Regions from separate parts of the Homo sapiens genome. Here region 2 is linked to region 1. The links are contacts of gene promoters, found by promoter capture Hi-C in human tissues and cell types (Jung and others, 2019). All regions are on one chromosome and are shown on one strand. The core of a region is centred on a gene start or on the middle of the fragment in contact, and the rest is flanking DNA. Distances in the headings are between cores, read along the strand shown. Region 1 holds the start of KCNS1 (potassium voltage-gated channel modifier subfamily S member 1). Region 2 has its middle 18 kb from the start of PI3.

What was found. The method cuts DNA at HindIII sites, captures the fragments that hold promoters and counts their contacts. A contact is called where the count stands out against the background at its distance.
Region 2: a contact is called between a fragment that was not itself captured here and the fragment with the promoter of KCNS1 in region 1, in 1 of the 25 tissues and cell types used here (spleen).

What each region holds. Positions count from the first base shown.
Region 1 is chr20:45,099,087-45,102,437 of GRCh38, forward strand. KCNS1 (potassium voltage-gated channel modifier subfamily S member 1) reads right to left here and starts at 2,041. Exons shown (of 4, transcript NM_001322799.2): 1 at 1,835-2,041; 2 at 75-153. The coding sequence starts at 150. The HindIII fragment of the contact is 6,202 bases long and covers 1-3,351 here.
Region 2 is chr20:45,155,793-45,158,835 of GRCh38, forward strand. No RefSeq gene overlaps it. Among named protein-coding and RNA genes, the nearest start is that of PI3, 18 kb to the right of the region's middle. The HindIII fragment of the contact is 6,370 bases long and covers 1-3,043 here.

The DNA.
Region 1 (3,351 bases), core at 791-3,290:
GTCTACTGTGGGATCTTGGGCCCGCCAGCCCTCTGAACCTGTTTCTTCTGCAAAATGAGGATAGTAACACTTACCTCCTAGGGGTGTTGGCAGCACCACTTTAGACCGGAGGTTCTCATAGTGTGTTCCCCGGACCAGCAGCATCAGCATCACCTGGGAATTTGTCAAAGATGCAAATTCTCAGCCTGCCATCGATTTACTGAATCGGGAACTCTAAGGGTGGGGTCTAGCACTTTGTGTTCTAACAAGATTGGAAAGTGATTCGGCTACATAGTCAAGTTTGAGAGCTCCTGCTTTAGATTATGTAAAGCATCTGTAGAGTCAGCCAGACCTGACCTTGAATCTTGACTCTCTTGTGTCACCTTAGGCAAGTAACATCACCTCTCTGAGCCTCTGTGAAATGGAAATAAAAATATTCACCTCAAAGTGTGGTTATGAAGATTAAATGACCTAGTGTCTTTCTTGGGCTTGGCTCACAGAAGGAATTTAATAAATTATTCACTGGTGTCACTATCTTCTGGAGTCAGGCAAACCTGGGTTTATCTCCACCCCTGACGCACCTGGGGCCTTGAGGAAGCTATTTGTCCTCCAGGTCTCAATTTCCTGCACAACGTAGATAATAGCACCTACCTCCAGGGATGACTGGAGGATTAAGGTAGATTATAGAAAGTGCTCAGCCTTAGTGGATACTCAGGAAGGATTTAGGTTCTTCCACTACCCACTGACTCCTGACTCTGCTGGAATTGGGGGCTAGTGACACCTCCTCACCACTGGCAATCTCATTTGCACTGTGGGTTCAGTAATGCCTAGACTAGGGATTAAGTGTGTGTAAAGCACCTGGGCTTGGCATTAAATGGATTTGGGGTTCCACCCTTAGCTCTATCACTTGTGTGACCTCAGGCCAGTCTCCTTCCCACTCTGGGCTTTAGCTCTTTTACCTCTAGAATGGGGATAATGTTGCTTTGGATGCATCATTATTGTGGTATATGTCAAAGCCCTGGGAAAACAGTAGATGCTCAATAAATGTTAATCCTGTGTACTTCCCTGTGGTCAGACCTGAGTCTACCACTTACTAGCTGCTGTCCTTGAGTGCATTCGTCGCCCTCTCTGGGCTTGTTTCCCTGTCTGTGGAACCGGGTAGCATCATACTTTCCAGGAGAGGCTCAGAGAATTAAATGATGCAAGGTGTTTATCGGCAGCATGGTCCCTGGCACATAATCAATGCACAATAAACGTGTGATGTAGCTCCGCTCCCACCTCCACTTGGATCTCCACCTGCATTTGGCATCAAAAAATGAAATTTCTAATCCAGTTCCATCACCCATTAGAAGCATAATATTGGGCAAATCCCTTCATCCATCAGGAGCTCACTTTCCTGCTCTATGAAACAGGATAATTAATTCAACAAACATTTTCTGACAAGAACCTGAATATCAGTAAGAAAGACCAAGTGACTTGTTCAAAATCACCCAGCTAGTCCATGGCACAGCTAAGGTTGGAGACCAGGTTTTTTTATTTCATTCTCTCTCCACACACTTATTTTGAGCACCTCCTATCTGCTAGTCACTCCTCTGGGCTCCATGCACACCTCACTCGGTTTAATCCCTACACCAACCCTGCCAGGGAGGTTTTCTAATCCCATTTTACAGATGAGCAAACTGTACCAGCCAGGGTCTCCAAAGCGCGGCCACCCCACACTGCTTCCTCCTTGGCGGGGGGTGGGGGGTCTCTTAGAGGGGGTAAGAGCACCAGGAGCCCCAGGCAGCCCCGCCTCCCACTCTGGCTGCCCGGGACCGTCCCGGAGCCACGTCCCTCCCCAAAGGAGGCCCCTTACCTGTGGTGGCACCTCCCGGGCGCCTCGCGTGTCTGTCCCAAAGCCACCGAGGCTGGGAGCCGCTGGCTATACTCGGTCTCGCCTCTGCCCCGCCGGCCCCGCCGAGCCTCCTGCTGCAGGCGGCCCCGCTGCCCTCTCCTTCCTTCTTCCTTGCCTAGTCCCCCGCGGCTGAAGGCCGCATCGATCGCTGCCGGAGGAGGGAGTGAGGCCGCTGGCGGCCGGAGGCGGCGGTTTCTATTCCTGACTCGGCTGGGGGGTGGTGGTGTCTGGAGACTGGGCCTACCTGCAGGGGCATCCTCCGGAGTTACGGGCCGGGAAGGAGGGGTCATTTAGGGCGTGAGGATTCCCCGTAGAGAGGGATTTCAGCAGAAGCTTCTCTGGCAAAGGAACAACAGTAATCATGATTTACTTAATTGAGTGTTTAGTATGTGCCAGGGTACTTCAGCTGCTGCAAGTGATTGATCTCAGTTATTCCTGGCACACACACTTGACAGGGCCAGGATCTTATGTCGCCCATTTTAGGGGTGAGCTCCAGTCATTTTCTCAGACCGTGGGCATCTGAGTTAGGGAGCTGTAGAAGGTGGCCTCATCTCCCTTGGAGCCCCAGGTTCTTCCTAGGTGAGTTGTGAAGCTTGAAACGATCATTTTACCCCTGAGGCGCAGTGTCCTTACCTGCCCACGGGTTCCTGATTCCCACCTGCCAAGTGGGTTGTGAGGGCAGAGAACATGTGCCAAAGAGCTTTGTAGAGGTTGTGAAATCCCCACACATGTACCTGTTGTGTGGCTGCTGTGTGCCTGGTTGGGGAGAGGCTCCTGGAGACTAGGGCCTGGATATGAGCCTTTGCACATATTGTTATTAATAATAATGATAATTACCAACGTTTATTGAGTACTTACCTTGGGTCAAGCACAGACCTCAATCTCACTCAAACTGCAAATTTATCTGTGGGGTAAGTGCTACTATTATTCCTATCTCACAGATAAGAACTGCTTTGAGAGGTGTGGTGACTTGCCGGAGGTCCCATGGCTGACTTCTGAGTCCTCTAGGCCAGCACAGTCCAACACCTATAATGTGAGCCACATATATAATTTTATTTTATTTTATTTTTGATTTTTTGAGATAGAGTCTCACTCACTCTGTTGCAGGCTGGAGTGCAGTGGCACAATCTTGGCTCACTGCAACCTCCGCCTCCTGGGTTCAAGCGATTCTCCTGCCTCAGCCTCCTGAGTAGCTGGGATTACAGGCATGCACCACCATGCCCAGCTAATTTTTGTATTTTTAGTACAGAAGGGGTTTCACCATGTTGGCCAGGCTGGTCTTGAACTCCTGGCCTCAAATGATCCACCTGCCTTGGCCTCACAAAATGCTGAGATTACAGGCATGAGCCACCGCGTCCGGCCCACATATGTCCTTTTACATTTCTGATTGCAACATTTTAAAGAAGTAAAAAACAGGCGAAATTACAGTTACCCCTTAAACAGTGGGGGTTAGGGAAACCACTCCTCCATGCCTAGAA
Region 2 (3,043 bases), core at 374-2,873, 56 kb after region 1:
GTGGTTTTATAGGCTGGGTCCAGGGCTTGCTTCTTTGTGCAGTCTTGGGACTTGGTGCCCTGCATCCTGGCCATGGCTAAAAGGGGCCAAGATACAGCTCAGGCCATGGCTTCAGAGGGTGCAAGCTCCAAGCCTGGGGAGCTTCCTTGTGGTGTTGAGCCTGTGGGTGCACAGAACTCAAGAATTGAGATTTGGGAACCTTTGCCTAGATTTCAGAGGATGTATGGAAATGTCTGGATGTCCAGGCAGAAGTTTGCTTCAGGAGCAGGGCCATCATGGAGAACCTCTGCTAGGGCAGTGTGGAAGGGAAATATGAGATCAGAGTCCCCACACAGAGTCCCCACTGGGTCACTGCCTAATGGAGCTGTGAGAAGAGGGCCACCATCCTGCAGACCCCAGAATGGTAGATCCACTGACAGCTTGCAATGTGCACCTTGAGAAGCCACAGACAATGCCAGCCCATGAAAGAAGCCTGGAGGGGGGCTGTACCCTGCAAAGCCACAGGGACAGAGCTGCCCAAGGCTGTGGAGCTCACCTTTTGCATCAGCGTGACCTGGATGTGAGACATGGAGTCAAAAGAGATTATTTTGGAATTTGAAGATTTAATTACTGCCTCATTGGATCTTGGACTTGCATGGAGCCTGTAGCCCCTTTGTTTTGGCCAACTCATCCCATTTCCAATGGGTGTATTTACCCAATACCTGTACCCCCATTGTATCTAGGAAGTAACTAAGTTGCTTTTGATTTTACAGGCTGATAGGTGGAAGGGACTTAATTTGTCTCAGATGAAACTTCGGACTTGGACTTTTGGGTTAATGCTAGAATAAATCAAGATGTTGGGGGACTACTGGAATGGCATAATTGTGTTTTGAAATGTGAGGACATGAGATTTGGGAGGGGCCGGGGCAGAATGCTATGGTTTGGCTGTGTCCCCACCCAAATCTCATCTTGAATTGTAGTTCCCATAATCTCCATGTGTCAAGGGAGGGACCCAGTGGGAGGTAATTGGATCATGGGGGTGGTTACTTCCAGGCTGGTCTCATGATAGTGAGTGAGTTCTCATGAGATCTGATGGTTTCATAAGGGACTTTTCCCCCTTTTGTTTGGCACTTCTCCTTCCTGCCAACAGAAGTGCCATCCTTTTTTTGGCACTTCCCCTTCCCATGGAAGGGGAAGAACGTGTTTACTTCCCCTTCCACAATGATTGTAAGTTTCCTGAGGCCTCCCCAGTCATGCAAAATGGTGAGTCAATTAAATCGCTTTCTTTATAAATTCCCCAGTCATTGGCAGTCCTTTATAGCAGTGTGAGAACAGACTAATACAGAATCAATTCAGAAACGTATGAGAAAATGTTAACAGAGAGATTGAATATAATTTTTGAAGATCAAACAGAATATTAGACCTGAAAAATGCAATGAATAAAATGAAAAAGATACAATTAAGAATGTCAAAGGCAGAATTGATCAAATAAAACAAATAAGAAAGAAAGGAAGAAAAAAGGCAAACAACAATAACAACAATAAAAATGCAGCTTCTTTTTCTTTTTTCCTTGGAAGGGGTTTATGACACACTCTTCCAGTGGCTACCTAGTGGCCTGGCTTCTAACTAACTTGCATTGGGGAGTTAAAGAAGCAGACAAGTGTTAACCTGAGAAGTAGATAGCCACTTTTCAAGCTTTCTTCTCCAGCTCACTGCAGTGATAATTAAGTCTATTAATTCCACCTGGAAGGAATTTGTTCACACATTTCACACATCAAGTGCCCCAACTTTTACAATTTCCACCTGAGGGAACTAATCCTCCTAGTTCTGGGAGTAGAGGAGACTGGAATGCATGTCTCTTCCAACCACAGTTAAAAAAAGTGACAGTTTTATATGGGCATGTGAGCACATCTGGGGTTACATCGCCCAGGAAGAGTAAGGAGAAGAGGTATAGAAAAACCCTGTCCCATTTTTCCCCAGAAAGTGTTTATGCCATGTATCAGTTGCCCCAAGTCAGACAGCTACCTCCTGAAGGACTCCTTAAACTTCTTAGCTCTGTGAACAGGGGGACAAGCATATTCTAGTCTTTCTAGATCATGGAACAAAAAAGTTGGTTTTAAATGGGAGTGCAACAAATTCCAGGGGCTACTCCCCCTTGAAGAAGTACAGAAAAGGAGCAAGAATGTGCAGCTCTTATTTTCTCTCCAGAAAGGGCTTACAGCACACTCTTCCTGTGGCTAAGTGATGGCCTAGCTATTAATGAACTTGCATTTGGGAGTTAATGGGGTAAACAAACAAGAGCCCTCTGACAGCCAGAGCAAGGGTTTGGCACTTCTTGAGACTTCCATCCAGCTTGCCCAATGATAAATCTAGGCTTACTCATTCTTCCTGGAAGGAGTTTGGCTATGGACCAAGTACTGCAAGTTTTATAGCTCTCACCAAATGGACTATCTCTTTAACAACTTAGCTGTGAGAGTCAATGGGGCTTTGTATTCCTGAGCTGCCCTAAACTACAGAAAACAAAGAAGTGGTTTTACAACAATTTCGTTCCAGAAGCTATCTGTCTATAGCAGAGGGTGTTATGATCAGAGGGTGCAGCATCAGTGTGAGCACAGCATTTCCCACGATCAGAGGGTGCAGCCTGAACAGGAGCACAGCATTTGCCACAGATTATCTCCCTGGCTTACTGCAAAGAGTTTTGGACCATAATGCCCATGCTCAGCTTCAGCGAAGATAGATGAAACTGGAACACACATTCATCATCCCAATCCTTTCAGTTACATTTAGAGAGTCAGGCTTCTACCTTAGCAGTCTCTGGGTACAGATAGGAGGAGGCACATCCTAAGCTCTATGGAGACATCAAAAACAGAGCCAGCAGTCTGAAAAAACACAAATATTTGAGAAGCATCTTAAAATCTCTGACCAGGTGGATTGGTGGAATTTTTTTTTCCTACAAAATCACAGTTTGACAGGACTGGAAGTTGTAGTTGTCTTATCTAATATGCAGAAATCAACACAAAGAGTCAAGAAAGACAAAGAAACATGGGAATATATAAGAACAAAA